3 separate regions of the Homo sapiens genome follow, and regions 2 and 3 are each linked to region 1. The links are contacts of gene promoters, found by promoter capture Hi-C in human tissues and cell types (Jung and others, 2019). All regions are on one chromosome and are shown on one strand. The core of a region is centred on a gene start or on the middle of the fragment in contact, and the rest is flanking DNA. Distances in the headings are between cores, read along the strand shown.

Evidence for each region. The method cuts DNA at HindIII sites, captures the fragments that hold promoters and counts their contacts. A contact is called where the count stands out against the background at its distance.
Region 2: a fragment that was not itself captured here is called in contact with the fragment with the promoter of CASP10 in region 1 in 1 of the 25 tissues and cell types used here (IMR-90 fibroblasts).
Region 3: a fragment that was not itself captured here is called in contact with the fragment with the promoter of CASP10 in region 1 in 4 of the 25 tissues and cell types used here (IMR-90 fibroblasts, aorta, hippocampus and 1 more).

The regions. Positions count from the first base shown.
Region 1 is chr2:201,181,143-201,184,718 of GRCh38, forward strand. It overlaps CASP10 (caspase 10), which reads left to right and starts at 1,999. Exons shown (of 10, transcript NM_032977.4): 1 at 1,999-2,166. The HindIII fragment of the contact is 16,206 bases long and covers 1-3,263 here.
Region 2 is chr2:201,001,162-201,004,737 of GRCh38, forward strand. All of the region lies in intron 7 of HYCC2 (hyccin PI4KA lipid kinase complex subunit 2), which reads right to left. The region is part of intron 1 of LOC105373835 (a long non-coding RNA gene); the gene reads left to right. Among named protein-coding and RNA genes, the nearest start is that of ORC2, 39 kb to the left of the region's middle. The HindIII fragment of the contact is 5,990 bases long and covers 1-3,576 here.
Region 3 is chr2:201,021,252-201,024,827 of GRCh38, forward strand. HYCC2 (hyccin PI4KA lipid kinase complex subunit 2) reads right to left here. Exons shown (of 13, transcript NM_001321623.1): 3 at 2,708-2,788; 4 at 1,580-1,681. The coding sequence starts at 2,758. Among named protein-coding and RNA genes, the nearest start is that of HYCC2, 49 kb to the right of the region's middle. RefSeq lists an enhancer at 807-976. The HindIII fragment of the contact is 5,479 bases long and covers 1-3,576 here.

The sequences.
Region 1 (3,576 bases), core at 749-3,248:
CTCCTCACTCTGCTGCAGCATTCTAGGGTCAGGGCCCCACCTTCCCTGGAACTGGGGTAGTGAGTAACCCAGCCTGCTGTGCTCCGGCCCCCCTTTCCCAAGAAGGTTTTTTTTTTTTTTTTTTTTGAGAGAGTCTTTCTCTGTCGCCCAGGCTGGAGTGCAATGGCACGATTTTGGCTCACTGCAACCTCTGCCTCCCGGGTTCAAGCGATTCTCCAGCCTCAGCCTCCTAGTAGCTGGGATTACAGGCATGTGCCACCAAGCCTGGCGAATTTTATGTTTTTAGTTGAGATGTGGTTTCACCATGATGGCCAGGCTGGTCTTGAACTCCTGACCTCAAGCAATCTGCCCACCTCAGCCTCCCAAAGTGCTGGGATTACAGGTGTGAGCCACTGTGCCTGGCCAGGACTTGTCTTTTTCTTTTCTTTTTTTTTTTGAGAAGGAGTCTTGCTCTGTAGCCCAGGCTGGAGTGTGATGGCGTGATATCCGCTCACCGCAACCTCCACCTCCTGCCTTCAAGCGATTATCCTGCCTCAACCTCCCGAGCAGCTAGGATTACAGGTGTGTGCCACCACGCCCAGCTAATTTTTTGTATTTGTAGTAGAGACAGCGTTTCACCATCTTGGCCAAGCTGGTCTCGTGATCCGCCTGCCTCAGCCTCCCAAAGTGCTGGGATTACAGGCGGGAGCCACTGCACCTGGCCCCAGGACTTGTCTTTCTTAAGCACAGAAGTTCTCTGAATGATGCCTAGGACATGGAAAGGACATTTTAATACATTTGCTAATCAAAGCATCATAAATCTTGCTTTTTTTCCCCATAGATAAAACATCTTTCTAAGACTCTGTACCTCTTTCCAGAGTGCTGCACATTTGAGTTAGCTTAATTATAGTGTAGTGACTTTGATCCAAACTTGCTGGTTTAAATCTTGGCTCTTCCAGCCGCTCACTGTGTGACCTTGGGCAAATTAATTAACCTTTCTGTGCCTTAGTTTTCACATGTTAAAGCAGCAGTCATAGTAATAGTATTTATCTTACAGTGTTGTTGGGATGGTGAAATGAGTAAATATTTGTAAATGCCCTGGCACATGGTAGTTGCAATATTAGTGTGCAGTATTGTTTTTATGATTAGAAATAATGTCTTCAAAGTCTCACTTTCCTGCTGGTTTGAATGTGCTGTGAGAACACATACTGTCAGTTTTGCCTACCACAAATTTGTTGAGTCTCTTGCAGGTACCTCCAAATGGGCTTGTAATTCACCATCCCCACTTTTCTTTTTTTTTTCCTTTCTTTTTCTTTTTATTTCTTAATTTCTCCCACAAAGACTGAAAGTGAATCCCCACTTTTCTTTTATCTTTTAAAAATTTTATTTGTGGGCCGGGCACGGTGGCTCCATGCCTGTAATCCCAGCACTTTGGGAGGCCAAGGAGGGTGGATCACAAGCTCAGGAGTTCGAGACCAGCCTGGCCAACATGGTGAAACCTCGTCTCTACTAAAAATACAAAAAATTAGCCGGGCGTGGTGGCGCATGCTTGTAATCCCAGCTACTCGGGAGGTTGAGGCAGGAGAATCACTTGAACACAGGAGGCAGAGGTTGCGGTAAGTGGAGATCGCTCCATTGTTTATTTGCATGTGGACATAAGAAAGGGTTAACATGGCCGACAACTATTTCATGAGCTTTTTGGCTTTATTTGAAAAGTGAAGTGTGTTTGGGGAAGGAGTTGGTTAGGAAAACAGATGCTTCCCTTTTTGACTTACCAAGGAAATGGAGATCCAAAGGAAAGCCTGAAGCACTTTGTGGCTTCCACGGGTTCGTTTCTAGGAAGCTTTTGCTTTACCTGGGGAAACCCCAAGCTCTACAGTGAGAAAGTTGTAAATTAGCCTTTAGGAGACGCTGTTTGTCAAAGTTATCTTAACCCTGGAAAAGGGGAGGGAAAAAGGCAGATAAGCAGTGATGACATCAGCAGGAAACTAGTATCAGGCTACCCAGTCCTGAAGATTCAGTTTTCACTTAAACAACCAGCAAGTCTTGAAGTCTCTTCCCAAGCAAATGGGAGCTTCTTTGGACCTTGGAGCACACAGAGGATTCTACTTTCTTTAAAACTTTGTTTTCAGGCAATTTCCCTGAGAACCGTTTACTTCCAGAAGATTGGTGGAGCTTGATCTGAAGGTATGTAATTAACAACCCTTCTTACTCCAGAGTCTCATGCTTGAATCTTTTCCTTTGCTTCATGGCTTCGTGTTGTAGAAACTTGCAAAAACTTGTCAGCAATGGCACTATTTTTTCTTAGATTTCTTTGTCATGCCTGGGAAAACAAAAGTTAAAAAATCCGGAAGCCTCCAACATAGCCTTTTACCGGGGCAGAAATATGTTAGCTCACAGAGACAAAGTTTGGTAGACTCACTAAAACTAGAGATCAGAATTGTCAAGAAACCACAAGGCAAATGCTAGATGCGGTAGAATAGAAAGGTGTCTCCAATAAACCACTCATTTGACCTCAGGGCTAGTAGCAGGGAAGATCCCCTGGATTATCACATTAAAAATGACATTTTTTTGTTTCTTTTAACACCAAAAGTAATGTGTATGCTCACATATGCATAAAATTTGAGAAATTCAATTGGAAGCCCAGAAGGAAATTTGTATTATCTATAGTTATGTCACCTCGATATAACCACTGTTTGTTATGGAGGTTTTGATTTTTGCTGTGTCTTCCTTCCTTTATTTATTTATTTATTTATTTATTTATTTATCTATTTATTTATTTGAGACGGAGTCTCCCTCTTTCACCCTCCAGCACTCAAGCTGGAGTGCAGTGGCACAATCTTGGCTTACTGCAACTTCCGCCTCCCAGGTTCAAGCAATCCTCCCATCTCAGCTTCCTATGAAGCTGGGACCACAGGCATACACCACCAAGCCCAGCTAATTTTTGTATTTTTTGTAGAGACGGGGTTTCACCGTGTTGCCCAGGCTTGTCCCGAATTCCTGGCCTCACAGTGATCCACCTGCCTCAGTCTCCTGAAGTGCTTCTCTGATTATAATGAAATTTAGTATGTAGAATACCATAGTTTATAGACTAGTCAGATGGAAACATTGACTCATGTAATTTTTATCTTCCTTCGCTGATTTGAGCAACTCTTGTCTAAAATCACCCTTTCCTTCTGAGGTCTAGGAGGTTTTTTTGTTGTTGTTTTGTTTTGTTTTTGAGGCAGGGTCTTGCTCTGTCACCCAGGGTGGAGTGCAGTGGCACAATCATGGCTCACTGGAACCTCCATCCCCGGGGCTCAAATGATCCTTCTGCTTCAGCCCTCTGAGTAGTTGGGACCACAGGCGTGCACCACCATGCCTGGCTAATTTTTGTATTTTTTGTAGAGATGGGGTTTTACCACGTTGCCCAGTCTGGTCTTGAACTCCTGGCCTCAAGTGATCCACCCGCCTTGGCCTCCCAAAGTGCTGGGATTATAGGCGTAAGCCATGACACCCCACCTGTTCCTTCCTTTATAAAGTATTTTCTTGTTTCTAAAAATAGCCAAGTTCTGCATATTGACTACATACCTCAAGTGCTTATAGAATAAATAGTAT
Region 2 (3,576 bases), core at 622-3,121, 180 kb before region 1:
GGGCCTTTGGGACACGATTAGGTCATGACAGCTCTGCCCTCCTACATTTGATTATCTAGAAGGTGCCATCTATGAGGCAGAGACTATGAGCCCTTACTAGACACTGAATCTGCTGGCACTTTAAGCTTGTACTTTCGAATCTGCAGAACTGTGAGCAATACATTTCTATCGTTTATATATTACCCAGTCTAAGGTATTTTGTTATAGCAGCCCAAATAGACTAAAGAGAGCAGAGTTATTCATAACAGCCAAAAAAGAAAAAATAGAAATAACTCGAATGTCCATCCACTGATGAATGGATAAATAAAATGTGGTATATCCACACAATGAAATATTATTTAGTTATAAAAAGAAAGTACTGATACATTCTACCACAGAAACAAACCTTGTAAACATGCTAAGTGAAAGAAGCCATACACAAAAGGCAACATATTGTATGGATCCATTCATGTAAAATGTCTAGTAATAAAAACTACTCAATTGTATGCTTTAAAGGGGTAAATTTTATTTCTATTTTTATTTTTTTTTTTGAGACAGAGTCTTGCTCTGCCGCCAGGCTAGAGTGCAGTGGCACAATCTCGGCTCACTGCAACCTCCGCCTCCTGGGTTCAAGTGATTCTCCTGCCTCAGCCACCCAGTAGCTGGGATTACAGGCATGAGCCACCACACCCGGCTAATTTTTGTATTTTTAGTAGAGACAGGGTCTCACCATGTTGGCTAAGCTGGCCTCAAACTCCTGGCCTCCAGTAATCCACCTGCCTCAGCTTCCCAAAGTGCTGGGATTATAGGCATGAGCCACTGTGCCTGGCTCCCTAAAGGGGTAAATTTTATGGTATGTGAATTATATCTCAATTTAAAAAATAAATGTAAAGTCAATAATTAGCTGAAAACGTGCAACATGAAAAACCAGTGTCAATTCCTCAATATTCAAAGAACTATTGCAAGTCACCAGGAAAAAAAAAAAAATACACAGCTCAATAAGAAAAATGGGGCTGGGCACAGTGGCTCACATCTATAATCCCAGCACTTTGGGAGGTCGAGGTGGGAGGACTGCTTGAGCCCAGGAATTTGAGACCAGCCTGGGCAATACAGTGAAACAAACCTCTCCCACCAATCAGCCAAAAAAAAAAAAAAAGGACAAAGGACATGAATATGCAGTTCATAGGTAAAGAAAAACAATAATGAATAACAATGTGACACCAGTTTTTAACTATCAGATTGGTAAAGATTAAAAACTTTGAAAATAATCAGTATTGGGAGTTAGTAGGAGGAAAAACTCTCAAACTACTAGTAGGACATTCAATTGGTATAGTTGCTTTGGCAAGGCTAATTTGACAATATCTACTCCAACTAAAAAAGCAGAGATTCTTTTTTTTTTTTTTGAGATGGAGTCTTCCTCTGTCACCCAGGCTGGAGTGCAGTGGCGCGATCTTGGCTCACTGCAACCTCCGCCTCCCGGGTTCAAGCGATTCTCCTGCCTCAGCCTCCCGAGTAGCTGGGATTACAGGCACCTGCCACCACGCCCAGCTAATTTTTGTATTTTTAGTAGAGACGGGTTTCACTGTGTTGGCCAGGCTGGTTTCGAACTCCTAACTTCGTGATCCACCCACCTCGGCCTCCCAAAGTGCTGGGATTACAAGCGTGAGCCACTGCACCCGGCCACAGATATTATTTAGCGTAACAATTCACTGCTAGGAATTTATCCTATAGATACTTTTCGTGCTCTCACGCAAATGTATGTACAAAAAATGTGTTCCCTGTAATATTGTTTATAGCAGCAAAAAACTGAAAACAATCTAAATTTACTCAATAAGAGACTGGCTAAAAATTGATGGTACATACATAAAATGGAATAATAACTCATCATTAAAAAGAATAAGATATCTATGTGCCACTAGAGAAAGAAATACAAAATTTTTTTAAGAGATTGGGTCTCGCTTTGTTGCCCAGGTTGGAGTGCAGTGGTGCAATCATAGCTTACTGCAGCCTCAAACTCCTGGGCTTGGTCCTCCAGCCTCGGCCTCCAGAGTACCTAGGACCATAGGCATGTATCACCACACTCAGCTATTTTTTAAGAGATCGGGTCTTGCTATACTGTCCAGGCTGTTCTTGAAGTCCTGGCCTCAAGTGATCCTCCCACCTCAATCCATGCACTAGGATTATAGGCATGAACCAATGTGTCCAGCCCAAGACTTATTCTTTAAAAAGCTGGGCTGGGAAGCTGAGGCAGGAGAATAGCTTCAACTAGTGGGGTGAAGGCTGCAGTGAGCTGAGATCGCACCACTGCACTTGTAATCCCAGCACTTTGGGAGGCTGAGGTGGGTGGATCACAAGGTCAGGGGTTCAAGACTAGCCCGACCAAAATGGTGAAACCCCATCTCTACTAAAAATACAAAAATTAGCCAGGCATGGTGGCGTGCGCCTGTAATCCCAGCTACTCAGGAGGCTGAGACAGGAGAATCGCTTGAACCTGGGAGGCGGAGGTTGCAGTGAGCAGAGATCGCGCCACTGCACTCCAGCCTGGGCGACAGAGCGAGACTCCATCTTAAAAAAAAAAAAAAAAGTGAAAACATATCAGCTTAGCAGGTTGGCTGAATTGCATGCAGTTTGCCGCTATGTTTGGGTTTTTTGTTGTTGTTGTTGCTTTTTTTTTTTTTTTTTTTTTTTTGAGATGGATTTCACCCTTGTTGCCCAGGATGCAGTACAGTGGCACAATCTCGGCTCACTGCAAAACCTCTGCCTTCTGGGTTCAAGTGATTCTCCTGCCTCAGCCTCCCGAGTAGCTAGGATTACAGGTGCCCACCATCACGCCCAACTAATTTTTTGTATTTTTAGTGAGACAGGGTTTCACCATGTTTTGGTCAGGCTGGTCTCAAACTCCTGACCTCAGGTGATCCACCCGCCTCAGCCTCCCCAAGTGCTGGGATTACAGGCGTGAGCCACCATGCCTGGCCTGTTTGGGTTTTTATCAGCTTATGAGTGGTGGCCAGTGGCCTGGCCATGTGGTCAGGCAGAAGGGTAATATAAAACTGGCCTAATAAAGGGGTGCCTGTATGGAAAAAAACAGGCATATGGAAATCACTATGGGAATTTGAAGCGTGCATAAGTAGGATATGTCAATGCACATCAGGAGAACTCCCTTCTAGAATCAGGTGACTGGCACCTATGGGCAAATATCCCTGTGTAGCCACCTGGAGTGATCACTTGGGTCCATGAAATGAGTGGACATGGTGGTACTGCAGCAATGCAGAGATGGGTTGAATTTAGACATATTTTTTGTACCCTCTGAGGCATAAAATGCCAATAAAACAGACAAAGACTGCAGATGGCTATGGGGCAGATTCCTCTGGGGGAAGGTCCTGCACATAGCTGGCAAGCCAAACAGATGCCAGCAGTCTCTGGAGGCCACAAATGGGTCCTGACAGGAACAGACACTGCATTAGGTTTTGCTTATCAGATTGTGGATCAAATGCTCAGAGTACTGTAAAAGGACCAGAAGATATTGTACCCATATGGACTGCTTAGCTACATTTTTGGAGCAAGAAACACACTTTAAAGACCAAAAGTCCAATGGCC
Region 3 (3,576 bases), core at 397-2,896, 160 kb before region 1:
GAAGTCTGAACACATGGTTAGAGCCTTCTAACCTGACAGGAGACAGGAGAGAAATTCAGACCTCCTCTAGCAACTGATTGATTATAATGAATGCTGGACCTTGAGCTCGCATCCCTCAAGCTGTAATTTTTCCATTTCTAGCCATGAAACCCCCAAAGTCCCACACATTAATATTACGAAATATGACAACAGAAAGTAATGAGAATAGCTTTTTTAATGTAATAGCTTCTAAAGTATTAAACAAAAAAATAGGAAAGGGATACTTCTTATACACTTGTGAGCCCTAATGAAAATGTCATTTTAGAATCTCATTTTGTACTTCACTGTCCTTCCAATCAATACTATTCTATGTTCATTATGTACATGATAAAATACTAGATTCTCGGGAAGTTACAAATACAGAATATCTGACCACTGCCCATGAAGAGCTTACAATCTAAAGAGAAAGCATTAAAACAAATACATTTTAATAAGCAAAGCTTAAATGTTAAGACAGAGCAAAACAAGGGGTAGGGAATACACACATTCATTATTCAAACAAAGAATTCTGAAAACTCTTGACCATATGGATATGCATATACGTACATTATGCATACCCAGAGTTATAAAACATTCAGAAATACACTGCAAGAGAAAAAGCAAATGAATCCTGCAATTGCTGCTACAAATAGCAACAGATGCAAGTCTAACTGAGAGCCAGTCACAATTTAGGAGACAGGAAAGAAGGAGGTCAATAAGCAAGCTTTTAGTGGTAGGACAAAAATGAAGATGCACTTTAAGTTAAGCTGCTGGTTAGGAGAGGATTACCTGAACTTCTTCAAACTCACTCCAGTACACAGCAGAGGCACTCTTGGAGGCTGTATCTGGGAAGATAAGAAGCTACTTTCCTGTGTGTTCCTTTCATTTTCATTTTAAGCATACATGAATCCAGTGGTGATAAAACTGTATGTCATACTACTGTGTTAATGGAAAGATAATGTGTGTATTTTGCATAAATTAATATACAGATTCAATAACTGTACTTTTTCCTTCTATCACAAGGCTAAATAATACAAAACTCTCATTCTAAGTTTATTGATCTTGACTACTTAGACTAAAAAGTGCTTCCTCTGATCCTTTTCAGGCTAAATTTACTAGCAGCATCATTTTGTGTTATCAGTTTGATTTCACTGACTAGAGTGATTATACCTAGTTATATATTATCAGTAAAATAATTGTAAAAATACTTAAGATAAATAAAGCTGGATCAGTATACAGTTAAAATATGGCTTCCAGAGCAGGAAACATTCCAGAACAGGAAACAGAAAAGTTTCAAATAAATAATCCACTGAGATGATGGTCAATAAAATTAACAATCAAAACATACTGCACACTCAACAGGAAAAAATTTGACCAAAACATTTCAAAATATGGAAAGGCAGGGAATAGGGAAAGCCAAAGCAACTATCAGAATGAAAAACAGCAGAAAGAAAATTTTCCAGATCCACAAGGAAAGAAAATTATAAAACTTAAATTTATGTGTTTTGGTATACATATTTCATTTCACTATGTAGAAATTATTTTTCTTGAGGTCTCCTACCTCATTATTTGAATCTTGAATAACTTTATAGAGGGCTGGTACAAGTGTTTTTTTCCGGTGTAAAGTTGCTGCATAACTGGTGATCTGAGTGTCAGGTAATGCCTAAAAGAAACCACCAAAGGAAAACAAAAGTGAACATTTGAGAAGCAAGGAACTTTATTTTACACAAATAGTTCTTGAACAGATTTATAACAAACTCAAGTGAGAAAAGTAAAAATAATTAATATAAAGAAATAGGCTGGGCACAGTGGCTCACGTCTGGAATCCCAGCAGTTTGGGAGGTCAAGGCAAGCGTATCACTTGTGGTCAGGAGTTCAAGACCAGCCTGGCCAACATGGTGAAACCTGTCTCTACTAAAAATACCAAAAATTAGCCAGGCGTGGTGGCGGGTGCCTGTAATCCCAGCTACTCAGGAGGCTGAGGCAGAAGAATTGCTTGAACCTGGGAGGTGGAGGTTGCAGTGAGCCGAGATCGTGCCACTGCACTCCAGCCTGGGTGACAGAGCGAGACTCCATCTCAAAAAAAAAAAGAAAGAAAGAAGCATCAGAGTTCAAACAAATTAAGTTAGGATGTTATAGTACACAATTCTTCTAACTACTCAACCATAAATACTGATTAGAAATCACACATTATACCAACATTTCCTGAAATGGGCCATCTTAAATTAATCTAATCTTTAAAAAAATGTAGGATGTTTCAATTCTTGCATTTATGTTTTGCCAAAACATTTACAATTCCATAGTATTCATAAATTACATAGTTTTCCATAAAAACTATTTGATTTTTAATTATAGGACAGAAAAACGTAGGCATAAATCCTATTTTTGTGCCTTATTAAAGCTTGATGGATCTTCTCTTTTACTGAATATATTTTAAAATATCGTCTCATCAATCCTAACAACTATTTTCATCTTTATGTATCACCTTCTAGCCATTATTCATATTAGTACCATTTTTAAGAACTGCAATTACAGAAACACGTTATTTTGTATTTTGCCATTTCCACTTCCTACCATATTTTTATGTTTCTCCATAGAGCACATAATGTTTCTCCATAGAGCACATATTCAGTTTGAATTACTGATGTATAGAAAAATATAATACATTCTGATCTCCAATCCAATTTACCTTGAATTCTGATAACCATTCTTCCACAACACAACGGTCAGTTCCCAGCATTTTCTTTTACCTTCTACTCCTCTTTTATCTCTAAAAGAAAAAAGTATTGAAGCTGAGGACAGTAGTACTTATAGGAACAACTAGAAATAAATGATATGTGCCTTTCACCAAGGAAAATTAATCTACTATACATTTTAGATAAGGTGACTTGTCTTAGTTTGGAGCACAATTAAAAGAAAATTTTTCAGAAGTAAGTTCTGGCTGGGCGTGGTGGCTCACACCTGAATCTCAACACTTTGGGAAGCCGAGGTAGGAGAATCACTTGAGCTCGGAGTTCAAGACCAGCCTGGCAACACAGTGAGACCTTGTCTCTACTAAAAATCAAGAAAATTAGCTGGGCATGGTGGCGTGCACATCCAGTCCTAGTTACTTGGTACCCAAAGGTCAGAGCATAACTTGACCACCGGAGATAGAGGCTGCAGTGAGCTATGATCGTGCCACTGCATTCTGGCCTGGGCGACAGAGCCAGACCCTGTCTCAAAAATAAAATAAAAATAAGTTTTATGTTTAATGATACACTTGAAACCTATTATCCTAATGCTTTCATATTTTCTCCAGTAAATACTTCAAACTGGCAAAGACAAGTGTCCTGAGTAAAATCAAGTTGCACATTATCCAGACAAATGCAGTCTACAGTTTTACCAAATACATAACCAGAACAAACTACACATCATAAAATGAACCAAGAGAGTATAAATGACAAAGCTAGATAAACTAGAAACCAAAGGTTACATATTCAGCAAACTGAATATAAACATATATGCACCATACACAATAAGGCCTCTGAAGAAAACAGATCCATAAATTTTCTAAAATGG